7 separate regions of the Homo sapiens genome follow, and all the other regions are linked to region 6. Evidence: promoter capture Hi-C in 16 types of primary human blood cells and fetal thymus (Javierre and others, 2016). All regions are on one chromosome and are shown on one strand. The core of a region is centred on a gene start or on the middle of the fragment in contact, and the rest is flanking DNA. Distances in the headings are between cores, read along the strand shown. Region 1 overlaps CRTC3-AS1 (CRTC3 antisense RNA 1). Region 2 holds the start of LINC01585 (long intergenic non-protein coding RNA 1585). Region 3 overlaps CRTC3 (CREB regulated transcription coactivator 3). Region 4 overlaps BLM (BLM RecQ like helicase). Region 5 overlaps BLM (BLM RecQ like helicase). Region 6 holds the start of ZNF774 (zinc finger protein 774). Region 7 holds the start of LOC105370969 (a long non-coding RNA gene).

The links. Contacts are between HindIII fragments. The CHiCAGO score rates a contact against its expected background, and 5 or more counts as called.
Region 1: a contact is called between a fragment that was not itself captured here and the fragment with the promoter of ZNF774 in region 6, in 6 of 17 cell types (fetal thymus, naive B cells, naive CD8 T cells and 3 more). The highest score is 8.1, in fetal thymus.
Region 2: a fragment that was not itself captured here is called in contact with the fragment with the promoter of ZNF774 in region 6 in 5 of 17 cell types (fetal thymus, naive CD4 T cells, naive B cells and 2 more); the score reaches 7.0 in fetal thymus.
Region 3: a fragment that was not itself captured here is called in contact with the fragment with the promoter of ZNF774 in region 6 in 5 of 17 cell types (naive CD8 T cells, naive CD4 T cells, fetal thymus and 2 more); the score reaches 7.5 in naive CD8 T cells.
Region 4: a fragment that was not itself captured here is called in contact with the fragment with the promoter of ZNF774 in region 6 in 4 of 17 cell types (total CD8 T cells, total B cells, naive CD8 T cells and 1 more); the score reaches 7.1 in total CD8 T cells.
Region 5: a fragment that was not itself captured here is called in contact with the fragment with the promoter of ZNF774 in region 6 in 4 of 17 cell types (total B cells, total CD8 T cells, activated CD4 T cells and 1 more); the score reaches 5.5 in total B cells.
Region 7: a contact is called between a fragment that was not itself captured here and the fragment with the promoter of ZNF774 in region 6, in 4 of 17 cell types (total B cells, monocytes, naive B cells and 1 more). The highest score is 9.5, in total B cells.

Annotation. Positions count from the first base shown.
Region 1 is chr15:90,678,887-90,682,775 of GRCh38, reverse strand. All of the region lies in intron 2 of CRTC3-AS1 (CRTC3 antisense RNA 1), which reads left to right. Among named protein-coding and RNA genes, the nearest start is that of LINC01585, 21 kb to the right of the region's middle. The HindIII fragment of the contact is 4,674 bases long and covers 1-3,889 here.
Region 2 is chr15:90,659,919-90,663,406 of GRCh38, reverse strand. The region is part of intron 2 of CRTC3-AS1 (CRTC3 antisense RNA 1); the gene reads left to right. LINC01585 (long intergenic non-protein coding RNA 1585) reads right to left here and starts at 3,173. Exons shown (of 3, transcript NR_120371.1): 1 at 2,583-3,173; 2 at 1,924-2,014. RefSeq lists a silencer at 256-305 and enhancers at 1,307-1,366, 2,027-2,076, 2,217-2,266, 2,489-3,017. The HindIII fragment of the contact is 2,140 bases long and covers 918-3,057 here.
Region 3 is chr15:90,643,596-90,647,492 of GRCh38, reverse strand. It overlaps CRTC3 (CREB regulated transcription coactivator 3), which reads right to left. Exons shown (of 15, transcript NM_022769.5): 15 at 2,148-3,897. The region is part of intron 2 of CRTC3-AS1 (CRTC3 antisense RNA 1); the gene reads left to right. Among named protein-coding and RNA genes, the nearest start is that of LINC01585, 15 kb to the left of the region's middle. RefSeq lists a silencer at 706-889. The HindIII fragment of the contact is 9,655 bases long and covers 1-3,897 here.
Region 4 is chr15:90,811,841-90,815,792 of GRCh38, reverse strand. It overlaps BLM (BLM RecQ like helicase), which reads right to left. Exons shown (of 22, transcript NM_000057.4): 22 at 1-691. The coding sequence ends at 514. Among named protein-coding and RNA genes, the nearest start is that of FURIN, 55 kb to the left of the region's middle. RefSeq lists a silencer at 1,007-1,116. The HindIII fragment of the contact is 2,570 bases long and covers 184-2,753 here.
Region 5 is chr15:90,733,970-90,737,878 of GRCh38, reverse strand. All of the region lies in intron 1 of BLM (BLM RecQ like helicase), which reads right to left. Among named protein-coding and RNA genes, the nearest start is that of BLM, 19 kb to the right of the region's middle. The HindIII fragment of the contact is 647 bases long and covers 1,775-2,421 here.
Region 6 is chr15:90,350,789-90,354,429 of GRCh38, reverse strand. ZNF774 (zinc finger protein 774) reads right to left here and starts at 2,146. Exons shown (of 4, transcript NM_001004309.3): 1 at 2,019-2,146. The HindIII fragment of the contact is 4,226 bases long and covers 134-3,641 here.
Region 7 is chr15:90,837,038-90,840,529 of GRCh38, reverse strand. LOC105370969 (a long non-coding RNA gene) reads right to left here and starts at 804. Exons shown (of 3, transcript XR_932610.3): 1 at 630-804. RefSeq lists an enhancer at 1-191. The HindIII fragment of the contact is 3,277 bases long and covers 1-2,966 here.

The DNA of each region.
Region 1 (3,889 bases), core at 885-3,384, 330 kb before region 6:
TTTTTTGTGGAGATGGGGTTTCACCATGTTGCCTAGGCTGGTCTCAAACTTCTGAGCTCAAACAACCCTCCCGGCTTGGCCTCCAAAAGTGCTGGGATTACAGGCGTGCGCCACCATGCCCAGCCATGCTGGGCTTTGAAAAAGGGCTGCATCAAGAGACAGATGAAGGTCAGTCAAATGTGTGCATTCCAGATGTGGGTCACAAGCATGAGAGAGAGCGGCTGGCTGTTGGTCTAGATCAGTGGTTCTCACTGAGGGTGATTTTCCACCTGAGGGGATGTTTGGCAACGTCTGGAGACATTTTTGATTGTCACAACTAAGGGGTATTACTAGTGGGGGTCCTCTAGTGGGCAGAGGCCAGAGGTGAGGGGGGGATAGGAGGGCCTTGGAAGTTTGAGAGAGTGAAGAATTGAAGTAGTCATCCCATAAGTAGGGGAGCTAGGTGACACACAGTAGGTTGCCAAGTGTGGTGATGGCTACAGGCAAGATGTAAGAAAATGAAGGTTCCAGAGGTGGAGCCAGGACAGATTCCTGGAGGCCATTCGGGGGAGGGGGCTTCGATAGGATCCCCTAGTAGAGCCTGTGTACACTGGGGTCCATGACCCCGGCCCCTCAGCAGAGCTTCGCTGAAACCTGGAGTGGCACTGAGGATCTCTGGGAACAGTTCCTTCTTTTTTTTTTTTTGAGATGGAGTCTTGTTCTGTTGCCCAGGCTGGAGTGCAGTGGTGCAATCTCAGCTCACTGCAACCTCTGTCTCCCAGGTTCAAGCAATTCTCCTGGTTCAGCCTCTGGAGTAGCTGGGATTACAGGCACGTGCCATCACACTCAGCCAATTTTTGTATTTTTAGTAGAGACAAGGTTTCACCATGTTGGCCAGGCTGGTCTTGAACTCCTGACCTCAGGTGATCCTCCCACCTCAGCCTCCCAAAGTTCTGGGATTACAAGTATGAGCCGCCGTGCCCAGCCAGTTCCATTTTCTCTATTGCTGAAGGTCCTAGTGGTCACTCGTCCAACCTCCACATTCCTCAATGGCCCACATCAGATGAGTCAGTTCCTTCATCAGTGATGGCAGTGATTGCAGGGAACGCTCAGCCTCCTTGGCTCTGATTCTGCCTTACCAGAAGGGAGCCCTTCTGACTTGACCTCGTGGGTGCCATCGAGTGTGGTTCCAGCTCCGCATGTTCCTGACTACTCCTGCACAAGTCTGGGAGGTGAGGGATGTGGGAGGCGCAGCTCTCAGAGCCTCTTACAGAAACAACCAGCCTGGTGCTGCGGTGGCAAGAAACAGACACTGACCCCCGACCCCAAGGGAAATTCACAAGAAGGCTATGGAGTCCCTCACAACATGGAAGGGGAAATTGAAGAGCCTGGTCTGGAAAAGACAGAAAACAGGGAGGCCGTGGGGACCTAGAAGCTGGAACCAACTGAGAGTCTCATCTGGCCACACTGTAAAGATGTGTCAGCCCCAACCTCTTCTTGGCTTTTGCTTCCTCCATTCAAGGGTCAGAGTCTGAGTGCCTAGGTGGGCCCAGAGCCTTCCCTCTCCAGCCTCCCTGCTGCCCCAGAGAGGACAAACACCATTTCTGACTCCCCTACATACTCAGAGTGCATTCTCAGGATCACAGTAGAGGAAGGACTGAGAAAATAAGTGCTCATGAGGCTGATGGGCTGCCTTAGCTTTATCAGCAGCAGAAGAATTCTGGGATGCTCACCTCCCAGAAGACCCTCCACAGTTCCCAAGAGCCTCTTCATCCATAATGAGGGTGACAAAACTTCTCTGAGTCACAGACAGCTTTGAGACTGGGATGGAAACAGAGGATTGCATAAGTTTCAGGGGGCTGCTGGACCCCCATTCCTGAATCCTAACTCTGGGACACCTTCTCCAGCCCGTGTCTGCCTGGCTTAGCTGCAGGCCTCATACACTGTCTCCCTAGGACCTGCAGTTGAACCATTCCATGCTCACGGACACGTGGATTACATGAGCAGGGCCCTAGGCCTCCTCCTAACCTCAGATTTTTTTTTTTTTTTTTCTAAAAGGGCAAGGCACTATTTTAGTCACTGTTTTGCAGGGAGAAAAAAATCCTGTTTATCCTTATGATTCATTTTGGTGGTTTTTGGATAATGTTGTATTGATTCATGACGACTCACTCAGCATCTGGTATGAATTAAATGAGACTTTCTCTTTTTGACAGTAAAATGAAAGATCTTAAACAACGCTAACATTAAAAAGAGGCCTGGAGGGAATACAAGAGTTGGAGCAATCCTGGGGACTTGAGTCAGTTCAGTGGGATGCCCTACCACCTTGGCAAAGCCAGCACAGTGCCATGCAGTTCCAGGGCAGTGCTGCTTGTGACCTTATGTCTGCTCCTCATGAGTACCACGATGACTCCTTGCAGGTCCCATTGCTTCCCACCATATGCTGTTTTATCTTGTAGTCATGATCCCAACTGGACAAATGGGGAAACAGAGGCAGGAAGCTGGCATGGATGTGACATCAGGAGTCAGATTTTCTCTGGTTTGTTCCAGGAAGTTTTCCGTAGAATCCCAGAGGACATCCAGTGATTCTTAACGGGGGATGATTTTGGCACCCCCAGGGGTATTGGGCAATGTCTGGAGGCATTTTGGTTGCCACAACTAGGGAGGTGCTACTGGCATCTACCTGCAGTGTCAGAACAGCCTCCAAAGAACAAAATGATCCAGCCCACATGTCAATAGTGCCGAAGTTGAGAAACCCTGCTCTAACCCAAAGGGACTCCAAATCCCAAGTGATGTGGTGGTTGTCAGGGCATTAGCAGACTTAATGCAAAGGCCTCTCAATATGGCAAAACAGATTGTCTGAAAAATTATGTAATTTTTGTGTTTAAAAAGAGTAGAACCTGGGCAACATAGCAAGACCTTGTCTACAAACATATTCAGGCTGAGAAAATGAAAAATAAAAAAAGACCCTGTCTTGGCCGGGTACGGTGGCTCACGCCTGTAATCCCAGCACTTTGGGAGACGGAGGCAGGTGGATCACAAGGTCAGGAGTTCAAGACCAGCCTGGCCAGTATGGTGAAACCCTGTCTCTACTAAAAATACAAAAATTAGCTGGGCGTGGTGGCACGTGCCTGTAGTCCCAGCTACTCAGGAGGCTGAGGCAGGAGAATCACTTGAACCTGAGAGGCGGAGGTTGCAATGAGCCGAGATCGTGCCACTGCACTCCAGCCTGGGCAACAGAGTGAGATCTGTCTCAAAACAAAAGACCCTGTCTTTACGAAAACAAACAAACAAACAACAACAAATATATATAGAGAGAGACAGAGAGAGAGTGTCAGGTATGGTGGTATGTGCCTGTGGTCCCAGCTGCTCAGGTGACTGAAGCTAGTGGATCCCTTGAGCCCAGGAGTTCAAGGCTGTTGTAAGTCGTGACTGCCATGCACTCCAGCCAAGGAGACAGTGAGATCCTGTCTCAAAAAAAAAAAAAAAAAAAAAAAGTATATATCTTGCCTAGATCATGGTCTCTGTATGTCATTCTCTGCTAAAAGAAACTAGGGCTCCTGCCAAATGGCCAGTCCAAGGTTGGGGCAGCTGAACAAGGAAGGTATCATCACTATGGAGTCTGATTAAAAGGACACAGGGGTTCATGTGAAAAGGCTCTCTCTGACCAAATACAGGATGATTTGAGCAACAAAAAGAACAATGCAAGTATGTTAAAATTCGTATTTGTAAGTTGAAAGAGGAGCTTGTGATCAAAAGATGAAAATGTTCCTTGGCCGGGCATGGTGGCTCACACCTGTAATCCCAGCACTTTGGGAGGCCGAGTCGGGTGGATCACCTGAGGTCAGGAGTTTGAGACCAGCCTGGCCAACATGGTGAAACCCCATCTCTACTAAAAAATACAAAAAATTAG
Region 2 (3,488 bases), core at 738-3,237, 310 kb before region 6:
AGATCTATTTCAGGAAATAGGATTATCAATACAATTTTGCTGCTTTCTTCTTTTACATCTGTGCTCAGGGCTTTCTCACTGGGATCAGATTAATTTTCTTCCTCTTATATTCAGACCTCCATGCAATTCATGTGTAAATCCAACAAGAGCAAGTGGATGTTTAAACCCTTGTAGCATGTATGTGTAAATAAAGAGAAGAAAGGAAGGAGGAATGGAGCGGAGGGGAGAGGACAATTTAAATAGTGCCAGCGAGTCTACCTATCATTCTACTCAGAGTGTGTGCCCAGAATAAGCAGAGATAGATGCGATGGGAGCCTGTTACTCTCTCAGTGGGTCTCACAAATGCCTCTTACACTGTGAGCATCTCATTATGAGGACTGTGACTTTCATGTCTAAAGATGTGTATTTTTTGGCCAGGCACGGTGGCTCACGCCTGTAATCCCAGCAATTTGGGAGGCTGAGGTGGGCGGATCCTCTGAAGTCAGGAGTTCAGGACCAGCCTGGCCAACATGCTGAATCCCCGTCTTTACTAAAAATACCAAAAAAAAATTAGCCAGGCATGGTGGTGCATGCCTGTAATCCCAACTACCCGGGAGGCTGAGGCAGGAAAATCACTTGAATCCGGGAGGCAGAGATTGCAGTGATCGCGAGATCACTCCAGCCTGGGCAACAGGGCGAGACTCTGTCTCAAAAAAAAAAATAAAATAAAATAAATAAATAAATAAATAAATAAATGTATGGGTAATTTAAGGGATTTTCATGAGTAACTCTGTATGGGATAAAGTCTTACGTAGAGATTTTAGAATCACTCCTCCGATAAGATGTGACCCTATCATACTAGACTTGTCAACCACAGTGTCTGAGCGGCCATGGGACTTCTAATTGACTAAGGTAGGCAGACACATCTCCCTGAAGCTTCCAATTTATAGGCCACCTGGCAATCTATGGCATGGCTTGGTACAGACAGATAAGATGAGCCAATCATATTCCCCTTCTCTGGAATCTGAAATTGGGAATAACCAAAGGAAGAGGCACTTAGCCATGGAAACTGAGGCTTCATGAAATGCACTGTCATTTTTGCAATACCCTATTGGCTACACAGGTCAGCTCTATTCAATATAGGAAGGAACTTCATGGCACAATTCATTAATTTAACATTTGTTGAGCACCTATGATGTGCCAGGCACTGTTCTAGGTCCTGAGGATATGGTGATGAACAAGATCCCCACTCTCATAGCTTACCCAGCAGATGCCCTAGGCAGGCAATGAATAAATATATGAGCAAGATGAAAAGAGAATGCCAGAAAGCCCTGAAGTTTTGGAGCAAAGCCATGAACTCTTTTCACAACTATTTCCTTTTTGAAAAACATCTCTCCACTTGCTGTTGGGTTCTGTTGTTTGTGAGTGCAAGGATGGAAGAAGGCAGATGACGATGTTAAGCAGCCAAAGGGGTGGACTGTTCAGGCCATGGAGTTAGTGTAGCAGGAGATTAACAATAATAACTAAGGCTGGGCGCAGTGGCTCACGCCTGTAATTCCAGCACTTTGGGAGGCTGAGACAGGCAGATCATCTGAGGTCAGGAGTTTGAGACCAGCCTGGCCAACATGGTGAAATCCTGTCTCTACTAAAAATGCAAAAATTAGCCAGGCACAGTGGTGGGTGCCTGTGATCCCAGTACTTGGGAGGCTGAGGCAGAAGAATTGCTTGAACCCAAGAGGCGGAGGTTGCAGTGAGCCAAGATTGCACCACTGCACTCCAGCCTGGGCGACAGAGTGAGACTCCATCTCAAAAATAATAATAATAACTGATAATAATATAGAACAATTCTAACAATATACTGTGATAAAACTGATGTGAATGTGGTTTCTCTCTCTCTCTCTCTCTCTCTGTCTCTCTCAAAATGCCTTATTGTACTGCACTCACCTATTTTTAGATGGTGGTTGACCGCAGGTAACTGAAACCACAGAAAGCAAAACTGCAATGTGGGGGGGCTGCTTGCATGCTCCTTTCAGACCTGTTTGTGAGAGAGTTTTAACTGGAGGGTATCTAAATAATCAGAGAGTGGGAAGAGAAAGGGGTACTCACTTTTTATAGTTTTGTATTGTTTGTGAATGTTTTCTATTTCATATGTTTTGTAATTAAAGCCAAAAAGGGTAATGACAAAAAGGAAAAAAAATGCTATGTGTCTGGCTTTTGGGAAGTTATTAGAGGGAGTGGAAATTCTACCACCTCCTATTGCTAAATCTCATTAAAGTGCCCTTGAAATCAACCCAAACCAACTCTCAGGCACGGCCAGAACAACGGAGGCAGAGCAGAGCTCAGGATCCTGAATCCACACCCCCCGGCCACTCCTGGTGGGAAGAGAAGAAGGGGGCTCGTTTCCTGTGGTTCCCACCCTACCTGGCTGGAGAGGCTGATGTGGGGCGAGGTGTGACCACCAGTGCATGTAGGAGGCGGAGAAGGCAGTTTCTCCCACTGGCCGGTGCCCTGGGCCCAGCCCAGGACGGGGAACTAGGACAAGAGCCCAGCCCTCCAGCATCAGGTCTGGCGTGGCTCTGGGAGGAAGGAGGAAGAAAACTCACCCATGTCACCCCAAGTCATGGGGCATTTCCAGTGAGCACATACAGACTTAGGAACCCGGGAGAAAGCCTGGAGGCTAGAAAAGCTGAGACCACAGTCAGCTGGGCTGCAGATCTTTGCTCCGCCTTCCTCCAGACAGCACAAGTGACTCAGCCCTCCCCAGGGTGCTGCTTCTCGCTCTGACACCACGATTTGGCCTCCTCTCACTCACAACTCTATCTCCTCTCTGTGTCATTCCTCCTACTCAGGGCCGATAGTCAAAATATCAAACCACTAATAAAGCATGGGCACCTGCCAGTCAGACTACACACCAGCTGGGAACAATGGCTAGAGGTAGCAAATTGCCCCAAAACTTAGTGGCATGAAACAACAAACATTTGTTACATAACACACTAATGGGTCAGGAGTTTGGGTGGTTCTGGCTCAGGGCCTCTCATGAAGTTGTCAGCATGTCAGAGTTGGAACCATTTGAAAGCTTGGCTGGGGCTGGAGGATCCTCTTTCAAGGTGTCTCATTCACAAGGCTGTCGGCAGAAAGCCGCAGTGCCTCCCCAGTGTGTGGGCCTCTCCATAGGGCTGCTTGAGTATCTTCACAACATGGTGGCTGGCTTCCCCAGAGGGAGACATTTGAGAGACCAAGGCAGAGTCACAATGTCTTTTATGACCTATCCTTGAAAGTTATATACCGTCACATTGCAGCATCCTATTGGGTCAGCCCTAGTCAATGTGAGAGGGGCTACACAAGAGTGTAAATACAAGGATGCAAGGATCACTGGAGGATGTTTTGGAGGCTGGCTACCCCAGGTACTATATTATGTCCTGTTTAAAACTCTCTAATGGCTTCCCACTAACCTCAGAATAAAATCCAAATGTCTTACCATGATCTGCAAGGCCTGGCATGAACTGACT
Region 3 (3,897 bases), core at 1,298-3,797, 290 kb before region 6:
GTGTGGAGGAGGAGGGGTGAGGGAGGTGTGAGGCGGAGGAGGGGTGTGGAGGAGGAGGGGTGTGGTGGAGGAGAAGGGGTGAGGGGGAGGGGTGTGGAGGAGGATTGTGGAGGAGGAGGGGTGTGGAGGAGGATTGAGGAGGAGGGGTGTGGAGGAGGATTGTGGAGGAGGAGGGGTGTGGAGGAGGATTGTGGAGGAGGAGGGGTGTGGAGGAGGATTGAGGAGGAGGGGTGTGGAGGAGGATTGAGGAGGAGGGGTGTGGAGGAGGATTGTGGAGGAGGAGGGGTGTGGAGGAGGATTGTGGAGGAGCAGTGGGTGTAGAGGTGGAGGAGGGCTGTGGAATTTGGAGGGGTGTGGAGGAGAAGGAGGGCTTTGGAGGAGGGGTTGGAGGAGGAGGGGTGTGGAATAAGAGGAGGATTGTGGAGGAGGAGGGGTGAGGAGGAGGGTTGAGGAGGAGGAGGATTGTAGAGGGGGAGTGGGTGTGGAGGAGTTGGGGTGTGCAGGAGGAGGAGAGGTGAGGAAGAGGAGGTGTTTGGAGGACACCTGGTCTCCAGCTCCATGGCGGTGATGGGGGCTGAGCTCCAAGAGAAGGAAGCTGCTGTCAACAGTTCGGAAGAATTTGCGGATTTTTCGAGCCCCTACTGTGTGCCAGGTGCTGGGGAAGTGGCATACAAGTAAACATGCCCCTGTGCTTGCAGAGTTTGGAGCCCTGTGGGGAAGCTGGATGTCAATTGCAGGTGGACCCGGATCTCCAGAAAACAAGGGGTGGGGTGGGCATGAGCACTGGCTGATAGGCAGGTGGGGAGAGGGCTAAGTATGAGGGTCGTCTGCTTGGAGGGCTGGAGAAGTTGGTTTGGGAGGTCGATGGAAAGAAGATGATGGTGGAGGGGGAGGATGATAGGAGACAGGCATGGCCTGGGTGGTAGAATATGCAGAAAAGCCTTACTGGAGCCAGAGAGGATTTCGGAGGGGAGAGAGTGGCCAAAGGGTCAGGATGCGGCTGACATCAGAGGGCCTTGGACAGAGGCAGGAGAGTAGGGAATCCTGGAGGGCTCCCTGGGGCTGCGGGCAGAAGGAGGCTGAGCAGGAGTGCTCCTCCAGGAGAGGCAGGACACAGGGCTGTGGCATGAGGGGTAGCCGGCGGGGAAAGGAGAGTTTTCTGTTTGTTCTGAGGAAGGAGACTGGGCATCTTCACAGGCTGATGGGGAGGTGCCATCAGAGAGGGCTAAGTAGAAGGCCCTAGAACATCAGCAAGTCCTTGCGGAAGGTCAGGTTGACGTGGAAACAGGACCTCGTAAGGCATAGGGACGCTGGGGAAGGCGCGACGGGCCATGGGACGGAATGGGGAGCAGCTGGGACACGGCGGGAGCTGGCCCAGGTGGCCTGGATGGGAGGCAAGAAGGCCTCATGTGGTCTGATGAGCCTTGAGGAGAGGAGGGCGTGGGTGCCCCACGTGGCAGGAGAGGGCTGGGTCAGCACAGCCTGGAAGTGCTGGTTCTTCCCGCAGGGCTCCCAGCAACAGAAAGCTCAGCCCGAGTGACGTGGTGGCAGGTCTTGAGGAGGAAGAGTGGCGTGGTGGCAGGAGAAGGGGCCTGGGGGTGCCACGGAGGCCACGAGCCAGGTGGGCCCGGGCAGAAGCAAGGGAAGCTAGGAGAGGACGGGCAGGCTGAGAAGAGGGGACACGGAAGAATTCTCAGTGCGGTCAAAGAACAGGGTGTGTGTAGACCAGAGTGGAAATGGGGGCTCAGGAAGTTAAAGTCAGAAACAGGATTTCCAGGTAGGATTTCAGGAGACAGTCACCTTTATGACAAGTGCTAGATGTGGCTGTTCGCGTTGAACCCTGCTGGGATGGGGGTCTGGGGAAGGGACAGGGCTAGAGGCCAACCCAGGACAGAGTATCTGGTGGAGGAAGGGCCGTGGGCAGGGGTGTGGAGCGGGTGCTGGCTGTGGGGGCAGGAGACCCAGCTGCCTCCAGCTAAGGGAACTGAGTGCCCCTTCACGTATCACAAGAAGGCCTGACCCACAGCTGGTACAGGGCCTGCCTTGCCAAGGCTCCAAATCCTAGCTGCAGGCTGAGCCGTGCAGGAGGCGGTGAGATTAAGGCTCCCCACCAACCCCTCACCCAAGTGAAGAAAAACACCACCAAATGCAGAGACAACCTCATTGTGATGCTTTTAATTACAAAAGATGTAAAATGATGCATTATAAAACTTGGAAGCAACTTTATACAAATTCCAATTTTTAAATATGGTTGAACAGGGTGCCCTGGGGGTTAGGACACTGGCAGGAAGTCTGATTAGTTGCTGGGATGGTCCCATCCATGAAGCACTGGACACATGCTGGGAACCATCTGTGCATAAATCAGAAGAGCCAACAAGAGTGGGAACAGGAAAGGTCTGCAAATACGCATATGGACTTGAAGATACAACACCAGCTCAGGTAATATACAGCAGGCGGAGGAGAAATGAAACAGGAGAAACAGGACAAAGGAGAATTCATGACATGATCAAGAAACCCCTTCTCCTAACCCCCTATGTCCTAAAACCCACAACCATACAGAAAGAAAAAATGGAAATGCAGACAGGTTTTTAGTTCTATGCTGTTTAACTGCTGTAAGTGAGAGTAGTACAATGGTCGATTTCTTGTGACAAAACTAAATAATGAAAAATAGTTTACTCTGAAGTATGCAGCTGCTTCAAATGCTGAGGACCACAACTGGTTTTGTTACAAAGGCCGCAGTGAGTGCAGGCTCACGTGCTGTGGGCCAGGGCGACCCTGCCCGTGGTGAGTCCTCCACACCTTCTAGGCAGAGTGGGTTGTACGATGCCCAAAACCTTTCACAAGAAAAGATCGGACTCACTCATAGACCTAAGGACAAATTGAATTCAGTGCTAAACCATATTGCCCCCAGTGTACACCCCCAATAAATCACTTCCCCGGAGGTCTGTTTTCACAAGTCACCTGGAGAACGCCTTTGGGGCAGTAGGGTTCACTGTGTAGGTCTTGGGGTCTCTGTTGCCAGGCAGGGTGGCTGCTGTGCAGACAAACTGAACTGGGACCCGGATATGACGATACCCATGGGTAAGGCACTATGTGAAGAGTGACTATGCTGAGACCTCTGTTTTATAAAAACACAATTCTTGAAACATCAGCACCATCGCCTGTTGAGAGTGAGATCAGGTTTGGAAGCCCTTTGACACAGGAGCTGGTTTCTTTTGGCACATGGGGTGCTGGGTAGCATTGCGACTGAAGGCTCTTTAACAAAAAGCCACCCCCTCTGAGATCTTGAGCACAAAGGGATCTGAAAGTGTAACTGGGAACAGGGCAGGCCAGCAGGCCCTTCCTGAGCTGGAAATCAGGCGAGGAGGACTCTGGTTTGATTTCCCAATTCCACAGCAAAGATTTGGGGCAAATGTGAAACAGGAATACTTGGATTCCAGAGGAAGGTGGAGGGGCACCCCATGAGGGTTATTTTAAAGATGAGAGGCAAGGTCAGAAGATAGAAATGGAATGAGGTCGGGAGAGGCTAACCAGCCCAGGGTCTTGTGACCACGACTCCTTTTACATAAGGGACAGGTGTGCCAGATTCAGACCCTCATTGTACAGCCTTGCTCCTCTGGGTGGAACAGTCCAGCAACCCTCAGTACACTCCAGGGTCTCCTGGAAGGGCAATGGCTGTCCAAGCAAAGGTCCTGGCATCTTCCGTCTCTCCTTCAGGGTTCTCCTCCTCTCCACCCTGTCCTCTCACAGCCTAGACCCCCCCCTCCCCCTGCAGTGCTCTGCCCCCTTCAAACCTACTGGCATCACCCAAGTTAGAGGAGGCAGGCGGTGGTGGAAATCTGGCCCATCTATTTTATGAGAAGGTATTGATGACTAATGATGCTTCCATGAATTAGG
Region 4 (3,952 bases), core at 219-2,718, 460 kb before region 6:
CATGTGTATTTCTTCTTCTGAGACTAGCCTGTTCACATCCTTGGTCCACCTGCCCCCTGGGATGTTTCTGACTGGTTCACGGGTATTTGGTATGATGGATACTAATCCTTTGTAATATATTTTCTCCTCTTTTCCCCGTCATTTGTCTTTAAATTTTGTTTGTGTTGTCTTACACGAAAAGCTTTAGTTTCACAAGGGCCCACGCGTGGCTCTTCCTTTGGCTTCTGGGTTTCGTGTTATGCTCAGAAGCTCTTGCACTGAGATGATTCAGCTGCTGCCTCAGACGTTCTGAGAAACAACGGCCACAACACTTGCAGCGGCAGCAAAACATGCTTATTCAAAAGAAAATGTTTATTTTAAAAAGAAGAACTATCACCCCCCAGCATTTATTTAAATATTAATAGAGACGAGTAAAAACTTCAAATGGTATAACAAGAATAACAGCTTTATAGTCACAGATGGTCAGATGCTGACAAACAAGAAAGAGGGTCTATGTACATTGAGATTCGGTTGTTATGAGAATGCATATGAAGGCTTAAGAAACGGTCTATTTATAGGCTTCGGTGGAGCCATAATCCCCAATTTGCTATTGGCTCCTGATGTCGCTTGAGAAGTATGTGAGGCTGAACTGGATCCAATGATGCTGGAGGATTTCGTTTTGGAAGATATCTTTCTACATGTGGCAGACCCCCTGAAATGTGACAAAGAAAAAAATCAAAATGTTAAATGAAACCAAAAATGAATGACCTTCCTCTCAACCTGCACAGAGCTACAATACCACTTCCCTGGGCCTAATGTGTCCTTGTGCATTTTCTGCCTACGAGCCCCCTAGGTAAGGTAAGTTTCCTTTACTACTTATGGAATAAAGGACCGCGGCCCTTCATATAAATTTGTTCTGGATTTGTCTTTCTGAAATGTGCAGGACTGTTTCTTAATTTTCTGACTTGTGACCAACCCACCGCCCCTCTCTCCACCCACACCTTCGGCAGCCTACAACCAGAGCCTGCAAGAGGAGCTGAGGTCCACATGTCCTCATCTATTCTGACCAAATAAAAGAAGTGAAACACCTTGCTGTAAGGCCCCAGCTCCCTGCTGACAGGCACCCCGGAATGACTGGACTTGCACAGTCCAGAGCAAGGCAGCTGTGGGGTGAGCATGCATGGGGTGGAGCTGGGTGGCCAGGAGTGGCAAAGCTGGGCGTCTTCCTGGCCAGCCCCAGGAAGCCCCAGGAAGGCTGCAGATGCGGCCTTCTGTTAGGACCGTGTCCAGCAGCTCCCTGGCTCACCTGCCTACACCCAGAGATCTGCCAGCTCTCCCTCCCACTCGCTGCCTTCTAAAGCCAAGGAAGAAGCCGCCAGAGCCGATTACCAAGTCCTTCCAGCATCTCACTTTCCTTGCAGACCTTAAGATAACAGCTCCCTTCCCACCCTTAAGTAAAATAAAAACAAACAAAACCATGGGGCCGGCATGTTTACAGTGATGGCTGTGGGCAGCATTACCCGCAGAAGCCTTTCCTGCTGCTCTGTAACCGGCTGATGTCAGGCCCCACACTAATTCCACGGCACCAGGGCATACAAGTAGCCTCCCGTCTGAATTGAGGGTATAGGGCCACAGCCTGTGGGTAATGACATTCTGATGGAGCTCCATGACTTAAACTCTGGCTCCAAGGCAGTTTTACTGCAGAACTGGCAGAGATCTGCTAGACTGGCAGAGATGCAGCCTGAAGTTTCCCTATGCTGATTTCCTGCTGAGAAATTAAGCCCAGAGAGAAAACCTGCTGTTTATGTTGATTTACAGAATGAATCGGCCAACAGCAGCCTCCATTTCACCTGGGCCATCCATTTACTCCCACTCAGAGAGCCCAGAACACAACTGGTTCATTGTGTGTTGTTCTGAAGATGTGAAACTCTGAGGGTAGGGTGGGGAGGTGAGGTTGCTGGCAGAGAGCCACATTTATTCTTTCACTGCACAGGGACTCTCAATCCGGGGAGCACACTGGGTCGGTGGAAAGGAGAGTGGAGCAAAAAGAGGCTGCTCCAAGGGTAACACAAAGTCACACAGTGCACTGGCTTTAGCTGGTAGGGCTTAAAAAAGAATCCCATCTTGGCTGGGCACAGTGGCTCACGCCTGTCATCCCAGCACTTTGGGAGCCAAGGTGGGTAGATCACCTGGGGTCAGGAGTTCGAGACCAGCCTGGCCAACATGGTGAAACCCCATCTAAAAATACAAAAATTAGCCCAGCGTGGTGGCGTGCACCCATAATCCCAGCTACTTGGGAGGCTGAGGCAGGAGAATAGCTTGAACCCGGGAGGCAGAGGCTGCAGTGAGCCAAGATGGTGCCACTGCACTCCAGCCTGGGTGACAAGAGCAAAACTCCATAACGACAACAACAACAACAAATCCCATCTTAAACACCCAGGCTCACTGAAAACAAGCATGGAAATGGGTACAAGTGTGAGCTTTACTGCTTCTTATCAGATTAGGTTCCAGATGATGCTGCAAAGTGCTTCACTCTTACAAACAAAAGTTGTGAAAATTAAATAAGGGAGCCAATAGCAATATGGTTTGCTTTGTTCTAATACATAAAGATGAGATGGAAGACCATGCGTGTTTTTTAGGAGTCTCCACAGGCAACATGCAGAAGTGAACGTGCTCTGGGCAGGTGTGGGCAGGCCAGTGTCCGCTTCTACCTTTGAAATCGAGACCAGGCAGGGTTGTCCTCCGATAAGCCCTCCCCAGGCCAGGCCTAAGCTTCCTCTTCAAAAACCCTGGGTGTTGAGCCAGATGCCTTTTAAGGTCTCCGGCTCTGTGTGAGTTACTGAGGAAATGAGTATTTCCCAAAGTGGAGGAATAAATGATGGAAATAAGAAAATGTTCTCACTGAAGAGCACTTACTGATCACTTGCGCACTCAAAACCACAAAATTAAACTAACGTTTTCTAATGCCTTTAATTTCGGTACTCTGGCAGGAGGATTAGCACATACAAGATTTTGTTTATGGACTTAACAAGAAAATGACAATTTGGTAATGTCTGCCTTCCTTTCTCTTTCCCCACTCAGTTCTTGTTTTTTATTACTCAGAAGGACAAGAGGTAGAAAAACTGCAAAAGAAAACACAACAGCTTGCAAAAGTTGACTGTGGACTTTTTTTTGGTTTCTTTTTTCTGCAAGCAACTCTGTTACAATATACAGTTACTTTGGGGTCAAGTTCTCAAGACTGATGGAATGGTCTCCCTCCTGCCAGGCCTAACCTACTAGCCAGAAGGCAGAGGGTGCCCTGGCAGAAAATCAAAAAGCGGCTGTCAGAAACAATGCAATTATGAAGAAAGAAGGAAACTGCCAAGATCATCACACATATCAGACCATGCTGTCTTTGTTGTTCCCCTGGTGTGCAGAAAGCGCCCAGAACAGACATGTCCCAGACGAGCGGCCCAGGAAAACATGGGAAGGGGAAGACAGAAGCCATTTACGCAACCCCTAAAGAGGCCTGGCTTGACTGAACTTTTGGTTTCTCTGTTGTGGCTTCTTCTTGCTACCCCTGCAAAGGCTGGGAGGTCGATTCTCCCAGGTGTTAATGAAAGGCAGGGAGTGTGCACGTGCTTCAAGGTGGAGATCCATGGGATTCTGCAGCAATAAAAGCAGCGGAGCAAGTACTGACAGAATAGTAAAAGCCACGAGGACACAAAACCCTTTGTTATTTATTCAGCTAGTGTATGATTTATAGTATTGTAGGTGGAAAAGTCTCTTAAGAAGAACAATCATCCCAAACAGGCAAACAAATATCTAAGGGAAGATCAACATGGAAGACATCTTTGCAAACAAGAAACATTAGTCAGGCTGAGTGCGGTGGCTCACGTCTGTAATCCAGCACTTTGGGGAGACCAAAGTGGGCTGATCACTTGAGCTCAGGAGTTTGAGACCAGCCTGGGCAACATGGGGAAACTCCATCTGT
Region 5 (3,909 bases), core at 849-3,348, 380 kb before region 6:
ATTCTGTTTTGTCAATTTCTCTACTGCTTTTCTAGTCCCTGTTTTGTTTATCTCTGCCCTAATATTTATTATTTCCTTGTTTCTGTAGCTTTGGGTTTGGTTTGTTCTTTTTACTGTTCCTTTAAGTGTGAAGTTAAATTGTTGATTTCAGATCTTTCTTTTTTAATGTAAGCATTTGTAGCTATAAATTTCCTTTCTAGTACTGCTTTCACTGTATTCCATGAGTTTTGGCATGTTGTGTTTTCGTTTTCATTGTCTCAAGATATACTCTAATGTCTCTTGTTTTCTTCTTTAATCCATTGGTTCCTCTGTCCTTTAAAGTGTTCCCATCAGGCACTTTCTTATTACCTGGCACAACATTCATGGTCTTCATTTACTTTTCCTGCTTCAGCCATAGAATCACCATTTCCTCAAACAGCCTTCATTTATTTTAATGAGGAAAAATCTTTAAAATCTAAGACCTGGCCATTAGATATGATCTGCTACTTGCATATCATTGCTCCTAGGCCCTTTTAGTAGACAGATCTAGGAAATATAAACACTTCTATCTATTTCTGTATCTACAGCTATACATCCATTGATCTATCCATCTATCTTAAAATTCATAGAAAAAACCATCATATATTTATTCATTTATTCAATCTGAAACTATAGGAAGTAATTTCAAATTGCTACACTCCTGTCACTAAAAAAAAAAAACCTACTAAGAAGAGTTCAAAATTCAGTTGCATTTCTTTCTTCAGATTAAGGGTACATAATTAAAGTACTATATTCAAAAGTTACTTGATTGGTCAGTCCCACCTCACCTTCAGGGTGATTACATTCATCATTTGAATTAGATTAGTTTGTGTTTGTACTGTTCTTGTGGATTTGATTTTTGAATATATAAAACATTTACATAGTTCTAAAAGTTAAAACTACATAAAAGACTGTTTTTCCCCACAGAGAAGTGTTCTTCCCTCTCCATCCTTTGCCATCTACTTCCTGTGGGTTATCAATTTCAATAATTTCTGATTTATCTTTCCTGTTTTTCTTTTTGCAAAATAAGCAGACATTAGAGTCTCATATTTTCCCTTCTTTCTTACATAAAAAATAGCACACTGTATGTACGCTTTCCATTCATGTTAGAAATCACTCTACACCCGTTTGCAAAGATTTTCCTCATTCTTCTTTACAGCTGTACAGTACTCCATTGTGTAGATATTTACCAACAAATTTCCTGTATGGACATTTAAGGTATTCCCTGATATTTTACAATTACAAATAATGCTGCAACAAATAACTTTGTGCATTCATATTTCCCTACTGTTGAAAACGTAAGGCCGGGCACGGTGGCTCACACCTGTCATCCCAGCAATTTGGGAGGCAGAGACAGGATTGCTTGAGTCCAGGAGTTCAAGACCAGCCTGGGCAACATGGTGAGACTCCGTCTCTATAAAAAAAATTTTTAAATTAGTAAGGCGTGGTGGCATGCACTTGTGGTCCCAGCTACTCCAGAGGCCAAGGTGGGATCAATTGAGCCTGGGAGTTTGAGCTGCAGTGAGCCAAGATCACACTACTGCACTTCAGCCTGGGCAACAAGCAAGACCCTGTCTCAAAAAAAAAGGAAAGAAAGAAAAGAAAATGTATCTTTAGGGAATATTTCTACAAGTGGAATGGCTGGGTCAAAGGGCAAATGCATGTGTAGTCTGCTGGATTGCCAACTTCTCCCTCAAAGGAGGTTTTACAAGTTTGCATTCCTCACAGCCTCACCAATGGGGCTTCTTGTGAAGCTTTCTAATTAGTGCAGAGCTGATAGGTGAGAAACGGTATTTCAGTGCAGCTTTAAATTTACACTTCCTGTTTAGGTGAAATTGAATATTTTCTTCACATATTTAAGGATGGTTTTTGAATCTTTTTAAAAAATTGTATCTGCTCATGTATTCTGCCTTTTTAACCAAATTTTAGTATTTTTTTCTCTCAATTTAGACTAGGGATAGTAGGTCTTTAAAATGTATTTTGCAGATTTTTTTCCTGGTTTCTCATCTATCTTTTAAATTTGCTTATGGTGTTTTTCATTTTTGTAATCAAGAATTTGCTTTTCAATGTAGCCAATTTTTCCCCCTCTTTTATTGCCCTTCTCCACATCCAGGTTACAGAAAACTCATCTATGTATTCTTCTAGTAGGTAATTTAAAAAAAATTAGATTTCTGGTTCATTTGGAGTTTATTCCTGTGTCTGATATAAAGTATAGATATAATTTTGTTTTTTCAAGTGGCTAACAAGTTGTCCCAGCACTATTTATAAAGAGTCCATCTCTGCCCTAATAATTTCAGAACTACCTTTATCATACACTAAATTCTTCATGTGTTTAGGAGACTAATTATTGACTTTCCATTCTATACCATTGGTCTATACCACAATATTATCATGATAGAAGCTTTGCAACATGTTACAATATCTGGAAGTCTACTTTCTCTTTGTAGCTCTTCTGTTTTCCTATTCTTATATGTTTATTTTTCTATATGAACTTTAGAATCAACTTGTCTAGTGCCAGAACTCTGTTGATATTTATATTGAGATTGCATTAAATTTATATATTAACTTAGGTATATGTATTAACTTAAATATATATATATATATATATATATATATATATATATTAACTTAGGCACTTTTATGATGTTGTTGTCCTGTCCTAGAACAAAAGATTTCATTTGTTTAAGGCTATTTTTGTTATTCAGAAGTGTTTTAAAGATTTCTTCACCTAGGTTTTACATGTTTTTAAATTCCTAAATATTTTCTCTTTTTCTTGTTGCTGTAAATGGGATTTTACCCTTCATTATATATTCAAACTTGTTGTGTATATGAAGACTACTGATTTTTGCATATTCTTATAAAATTCCTTTTCTGTTTAGTTAGTTTCATTATTGATTTTCTGCAGTATTCCAGACACACTACCATATCACCTGCAAGTAGGGACAATATTACTTTTTATTTTCCAAATCTTGTGCCTCTAATTGATTTATCTAACTGCATTGGCTAAGCCCCCAGTACAATGTTAAATACAAGTGGAGTTGGTGAGTATCTCTATATTTTTCTCAATCTTAGTAAAAATGCCTCTAGTATTTTCCTATTAGATAAAATACAGGATTTAGGAATAAAGTCTCTCTCTCTCTCTCTCTCTCTCTCTCTCTCTCTCTGCGTGTGTGTGTGTGTGTGTGCGTGCGTGCGCGCGTGTGTGTGTATGTGTGCGTGAGAGACAGAGACAGAGAGAGAGAGAGAGAATACCATCATTAAGAAGTATTGATTGGCCAGGCATGGTGGCTCACATCTGTAATCCCAGCATTTTGGGAGGCCGAGGTGGGCAGATCACCTGAGGTCAGGACTTTGAGACCAGCCTGGCCAAGATGGTGAAACCGCATCTCTACTAAAAATACAAAAATTAGCCAGGTGTGGTGGTGGGCGCCTGTAATCCCAGCGACTTGGGAGGCTGAGGCAGGAGAATGGCTTGAACCTGGGAGGTGGAGGTTGCAGTGAGCTGAGGTCATGCTACTGTACTTCAGCCTGGGCGACAGGGTGAGACTCCATCTCAAAAAAAAAAAAAGAAGTATTGATTACAATATAATTTCTTAAGAGTTTTTACTATATATTGGTGTTGAATCTTGTCAAAGGCTTTTTCAGCATATATAAAAGTAAATATATGACTGTTCTCCTTAGGTTAATTAATATGGTGAATTACATTGATGATTCTAATGTTAAACCATCTTTGCATTCCTGGTATACATCTTGGTGATGAGCTAATAGTTTTGTAATAGAGTGCTGGATTCTGTTCTGTTTGGTAGTATTTTATTTAGAACTTTTACATAATTTTTATACATAATATTCATCTGTAATTTTCTTTGTGCTACCTTTAATTTTTATGTTAAA
Region 6 (3,641 bases), core at 897-3,396:
GCCTAGGCCTCCCAAACACATCGACAGAACCCAGTCTTTTAGACACATTGACTTTTTGAGGAACAAATTGTCCACGATGAACAAGGTAAACAAAGGAGAGAGTTGGCAGGTGTAATTTGATTTCTGGAAAGCTTTTGATTCTCCCCAACTTCATTTTCCTCAGCAAGCAAGGAAATTGTGGCCTTAACTATACTCATATTAGTTATGGGAGCAGCTAACTTCTTGGCTTGCAGATTTGGTGTCAACCTCAAGGGACAGATTATACAGAACCCCAAAGGGAACTGTGTTGGATACCATTCTATTTCAAGATCTTAATGGAGTCAGAAATAAGACTGAAAAAGACATTTTTTTTTTAAAAAAAAGAAGACATGGATAGGTTGTAAAAATAAGTGAAAGTGGGAATAAGCACAAAACACAACTCTTAGGGGCTGAAACCAATCATTAATATATTAATAAATCGACAGCAATATCATGAAAAACATTACTTTTTGGAGGATAGTCAAGAGTGAATTACTGGATGGATCAGTCATTTATTCAACAATTAATATGTTGCCAGGCATAGGAGTCACATAGAAATTAAGATAATGTTTTTTCCCTTAAAAAGTTTCCAATAAACCAGCCTCAGCAACATATTGAGACCTCTTTCTCTACAAAGAACTTTTAAAAATCAGCCAGGCATGGTGGCATGCACTTGTGGTCCCAGCTACTCAGGAGGCTGAAGTGGGAGGATCACTTCAGCCCAGGAGTTCCAGGCTGCAGTGAGCTATGATGGCGCCACTGCACCCCAGCCTAGCAACAGAGTGAGCCCCTGTCTCTCCCTTAAAAAAAAAAAAAATGCAGCCAGCATGACCACCCACTACAAAGAATATTGCATTTCAAGGGAGGAAGGACCAGACTGTGGTGAAGAAGTTTTACTCTTTCACATCTTTTGTCCCACTACAAATCACCTATTTACTACTGGAACACACACACACACACACACACACACACACACACACACACACTTTTGGGGGAAATATTTTTGTATTTACAGACATTATTATTGGTCATTTATAAAGTATTGAGTTTTTAAGGATCTAAAAACCATCTCTCTGGTTTAAAACTTTAACAAACAACAATAATGTAATTAGAAAGTAAAAATTGTAATAAGAGTTTTCAGTATTGGCCAGGTGCTGTGGCTCATGACTGTAATCCCAGCACTTTGGGAAGACGAGACGGGCGGATCACCTGGGGTCAGGAGTTCGAGATCAGCCTGGCCAACATGGTGAAACCCTGTCTCTACTAAGAATACAAAATTAGCCGGGTGTGGTGGCACACGCCTGTAATCCCAACTACTTGGGAGGCTGAGGCAGGAGAATCGCCTGAACCCGGGAGGTGGAGACTGCAGTGAAAGGAGATAGCGCCATTGCATTCCAGCCTGGGCAACAAGAGCGAAATTCCGTCTAAAAAAAAAAAAGAGTTTTGAGTATAATTTTTATTTCTACATTCATTACAAAACACAGCTGCAGGGCCCACTTGCTGGAGACAGCGCCACTGAGGAGGGGAGACGTCTTAGCCACGGTTATAGAAACCCTGTTTCCCAGCCCGTCCCTTTCCCCATGCACAGGTGACCTCAAAGGCCCCACAGCGCTGAGGGGCTGTGACTAAGTGCCACTGTGAGAAGCTCCAGTGCGTTCACCGGGTTTATTAATAGGAACATGACTGCACGCGTGGGGCCGAACCCCGTTCTTCTTCTCGGTGCTCGCGCCCTAACCGGGGTGCGGCGGTCAGAGGGTCACAGATCAGCTGAAACCCTGGGACCACCATCGAGAAGCAAGAAAACTGATTAAGAGAATGACTTATCCCGCCGACGGTATAGAGACCACAGCTACCTCTCCCACAGCCCAGCAAGACCCGGGGGCTCCCAAAGGCCAGCGCGGGAACCCCGCTGAGAAAACGTCTGGGTGGCGGGCAAGCCCCCTCCACGCCCCTCAGCAGCGCGCCGCTGCCGCCGCGGTCTCCCTCCTTGAATCACTCACCGCCCCAGGGCCCAGCCGGGGATGGAGCAGGAAGTGAGTCCTCCACCGCCGAGCCGCACCCGGCCCGCAACCCCGAGGCTGTGCCTCCCAGAACCCGACCGGGATTCGTGACAGGGCTGTGGGGACACAGGTGGGACTCCGGCTTCGACAGCCAGCGGCCGGAAAGTACCGCCCCCATCCTCTTGCTATTGGCTTTTCAGTTTCCATGGCTAGAATTTTTCTCTGTCCATAGGCTGATAGAGCTGTCAATTATCGCCTAGCCTTCTGGGAAACGTAGTCCCGAGCAAGACCTCAAAGGACTCGGAGCCGTGGATGTCCAGTTCCAAGCGTTGGAAAGTGCTAAACCCAATTCCCCAGCTACCGGTCCCCCGGAACCGCCTGTTTGGAGCCGAGGGATCTAAATGCTGTATCCTCACTGTGGCATCTGCAGATGTGAATCTCCTGGCCTCACCCACCTACCGCGGAGCAGCCTGGTGCCCACCATGAGGTCTCCCGCGCTCTGGCACTTCGCCCCTCCCCAGCGCAGAGCAGCTCAGCCCTCGGGCCTTTGCGGCCTCTCTTCTGCCCAGTCTTCCACCTCATCCCCGGCGGCCGGAGCCTGCAGGGTGTTTGCGGAGGCCAGGTCCCAGACCAACTCAAACTGGACATTGGAAAGGCCCAGCAGAAGCCCTTAGTAGAAAACAGACATTCCGCATCCTTCCCTTGGCATCAAACTCCCAGGCACATCCCCTTTCCGTCTGGTTGATAGCCAGAGGAGGCGGGCGAGGGCATCAAGTATTCTGGGAAATGTGATATCGGGCTTCAAACTGGGGAGGCTCCTGGGTCTCATGTGAGAGCCAGTGATCACTTTGGGTCGGCCCCTAGCTAAAAAACAACAAAGTCTTTCCTTAAAGTGAAGAAAATGTGCCTGTCTACTCCGTTTGTTGATTCAGTGCAATTTAGAAAAATAAAAGAACATTTTGTGATGTATTATAAAACGCTTAGAATTACCAGCCATAGAGTTTTTTTTTTTTTTTTTTTTTAGACGGAGTCTCGCTCTGTCGCCCAGGCTAGAGTGCAGTGGCACGATCTCGGCTCACTGCGAGTTCTGCCTCCCAGGTTCACACCATTCTCCTGCCTTAGCCTCCCGAGTAGCTGGGACTACAGGCGCCCGCCACCACACCCGGCTAATTTTTTGTATTTTTAGTAGAGACGGGGTTTCACCATGTTAGCCAGGATGATCTCCATCTCCTGACCTCGTGATCCGCCCGCCTCGGCTTCCTAAAGTGCTGGGATTACAGGCGTGAGCCACCGTGCCCGGCCCGAGTTAATGTTGAAGATCCCTTTGATGCTAATTCCACCATTCCTTCAACAAAAATAAGGTGCATTTTCCAGTGGATATTTATTGGGAACATTCTGTTCTCAAGATCGTTCTGGGGGCAGGGCGTGGTGGCTCACGCCTGTAATCCCAGCACTTTGGGAGGCCGAGGCGGGAGGATCACGAGGTCAGGAGATCGAGACCATCCTGGCTAACATGGTGAAACCCCGTCTCTACTAAATATAGAAAAAATTAGCCGGGCGTGGTGGCGGGCGCCTGTAGTCCCAGCTACTCGGGAGGCTGAGGCAGGAGAATGATGTGAACCC
Region 7 (3,492 bases), core at 79-2,578, 490 kb before region 6:
GAGCCAGGCACGGTGGCTCACACCTGTAATTCCAGCACTTTGGGAGGCCAAGGTGGGTGGATCACCTGAGGTCAGGAGTTTGAGACTTGCCTGGCCAACATGTGAAGCCGTCTCTACTAAAAATACAAAAATTAGTCGGGCATGGTGGTGCACGCCTATAATCGCAACTACTCAGGAGGCTGAGGCAGGAGAATCATTTGAACCCAGGAGGTGGAGGTTGCAGTGAGCCGAGATTGCGCCACTGCAATCTGGGCTGGGTAACGAGTGAGACTCCGTCTCAAACAAAAGAACAGGCCCTGCGTGGGTGCCTCAGCCAGGCACCACTTTGTTCCCTGAGGCCTAGCTCCCCGTGGATGTGGTGCTGTCAGGGGAGTTCGTTGGTGTAGGAGCACGGGGCATCTATGATGTGCCAGGCACTGTGCCGGGCACTGGGGAGACAACAGTGACCTGGGCACACCCTGCTCTCATGGAGCTCACGGCTAAGGAGACAATACAGTGTGGAGGGGGCTGGGCTGAGAGGAGGCGCCCAATGGGGCATGGGCACAGAGACGCCCCAGGGGACGTCCCTGCAGTGGGGGGAGGGGGGCACAGTGGTAAAGGGAAGGAAAATGGCCATCGCGTCACAGTACCTGTTGGGACCGGTTCTGAGCTCCCATCAGATCCTCTGGAGAACTCCTAGGAATGCAGGAGGTGGAGCTGAGGGGCAGAGGCCAGAGCTGGACTCCTTTCCCTGCACTGGATGGTCAGCGGGCCCTTTCCTGAACGCCAGGCCTCTTGCAGGGCCTACGTAGGGGCTCCTACTGCGGCTTCTTCCCTGGCAGAGCCCAGCAGGAGCTCCTCGGCTCCCCTAGCTCTGCTTCCTCTTTTGATTTGCATAACAATCTGCCCAGACGAGCTTTGTACCTCTGCATCAGGGCTGGAGCCCAGCGCTGTGCTCTGCCAAAGGAGGAAAAAAAAAAAAAAGCTCTTACAATAAGAAAGCCCGACGGACGGTGGTTCCTGGGCAGGCTTCCCAGGGAATCAGCTCTGGATGACCTGCTGGCTTTGGTGTGGGTTTGGGTCAGACCCAGGTGAGGGGCCCTCTTTGAATCTTCCCCCTCCTGGCATAAGGCCCAGAGTCCTGTTCGTGGGGCCTGCTGGAGCCTGGTGCCCAGAACATTTATCCTACACACACCCACATGCCAAGGGATGTAGGATAGTGTAGTCATCACAACACTGCTTGTCTTAGCAAAAGACTAGAAATAACCTGCATGTCCAACAGTAGGGGATTGGTGATTCTGGACGTCCATACAAAGAATGACCCCATAAAAAGAATGAGGTTTGGGGCTGGGTGCAGTGGCTCATGTCTGTAATCCCAGCACTTGGGGAAGCTGAGGCAGGCAGATCACCTGAGGTCAAGAGTTTGAGACCAGCCTGGCCAACACGGAGAAACCCCATCTCTACGAAAAATACAAAAATTAGCTGGGCGTGGTGGTGCATGCCTGTAATCCCAGCTACCTGGGAGGCTGAGGCAGGAGAATCGCTTGGACCCAGGAGGCGGAGGTTGCAGTGAGCCAAGATCATGCCACTGCACTCCAGCCTGGGTAACAAAGTGAGGCTCTGTCTCAAAAAAAGAACGAGGTTCCATGGGGTGTACTCACAAAGTGGGGGGTGGGGGCATCAGTTCTTGCACCCCCATGTGGGCACTTTGCCTATTCCATGCCCCTAGAGGCTGCAACAAATGCGTCAGCTGGGGATGCCCCAAACGCCCCAGGGACTCAGCGTCCCTGCTTTCCATGGCTCTAGTCCTTGCCTGGCACTGGGGCTGAGGAGTCCGCTGACGACAATGGGCCTGCCAGTCCCCGCTCCGTGGCCACGAGTGGCCCCTTCTGCACGCCCTGCCTCCGCTCCCTCATCTGTAAGATGGGGACAATCCACCGACCTTGTATGTGTGATGAGCCCCTGGCGTACAGAGCGGCTGTGCAATAAAGGTGATTCTGACCGAAGTTTGGCCCCGTGGGAACTGTAGGGTGGGGGAGCGTGCAGAGCAGGGAGAGCAGGAACACAGTCCCAGAGATGCCCTGATAGGTCTTCAGGGAGGAGCGGGGACTCCAGTGCTTGGGCCCTACCTGTCACCTGCTATGTGTGTGTTGGGGGCCTGAGCCGCCTTCACAGCAGACAGCGCTCTGGAGGGGAAGAGTTCACCTCACAATTTCCTGAGCTGGGGAGGAGGGTGCGTCAGGCAACACCGCGGTGACAGCCCCCGCCCTCGCCCCCGCCTGCTCCGAGATTTACCCAGCCCTGCTGGCAGCGGCGGGTGACCTCAGCTCACCCACCAGTCTCAGGAAGGGGTGAGGTTGTGCTGGGGGATTGCCCTGAAGCTGCTTTTGCTGCGGTGCCTAGAGGGTATGATTTGGGGGTGCTTTCGTAGGAGCTGGTGGAGTTGGTGTGGGGTGACACTTCCCAAGGCTCTGCAGGGGCAGGGGGGCCTGAGCTGAAAGAGAAGGGGGCTGAACCGGGCGCGGTGGCTCATGCCTGCAATCCCAGCACTTTGGGAGGCCGAGGCGGGCAGATCACCTGAGGTCAGGAGTTCAAGACCAGCCTGACCAACATGGTGAAACCCCATCTCTACTAAAAATACAAAAATTAGCCGGGCGTGGTGGCACATGCCTGTAGTCCTGGCTATTTGGGAGGCTGAGGCAGGAGAAGCGCTTGAACCTGGGAGGTGGAGGTTGTAGTGAGCCGAGATTGTGCCATTGCACTCCAGCCTGGGTGACAGAGTGAGACTCCGTCTCAAAGGAAAAAAAAAGAGAGAAGGGGGCTGAGAAGGGAGGTCCCACTGGGCCTGGAGGCCTGGACCCAGCCCTGTCCAGCATCTCCCACAGTGTCTGACGGTGCCCCCATGACCCCCACAGACCCTCAACTGGCTCCACAAGGAGCCTCCGTCCTCCCAGAAAAGTTAGGTTTTTTAAATTTCCATTTAAGCTTTTTATCACATTCTTCCCTTACTGACTTGATTTCCCCCTTTCATTCCCCCTTCCTGTAAGCTCGTCTCATTGTCATTCTTTCCAACAAACCTGAAACTAAAAATAGCTAACATTTCACACGTTATCTTCTTGATTCCTATCAAGCAGCTCATGATGCCCCTATCTTTCCGATGAGGAAAGAGAGTCATCCAGGGCAAAGGACTTGGCCAAGGTCACCCAGTAGGCAGGGCCCGTGTGCCTTCCTGCCTCCCGGGTGCAAGGCCCCAAGGCTTCGCCGGCTCTGAGCCTCTGAGTCACTGGAACAAGGCAGAGCCAGGTGGTCTGGACTGTCACGGAAGCCTTCCAGAAAAGGAGGCCTCGAAGCCTAGGGGCGAGGAGGAGATTCTGGTGGAGGTAAAAGCACCTGCAAAAGCCAAGCAGTGGTCGGCTGGGTGTGGTGGCTCACGCCTGTAACTCAGCATTCTGTGAGGCCGAGGCGGCAGATCACTTGAGGTCAGGAGTTCGAGACCAGCATGGCCAACATGGT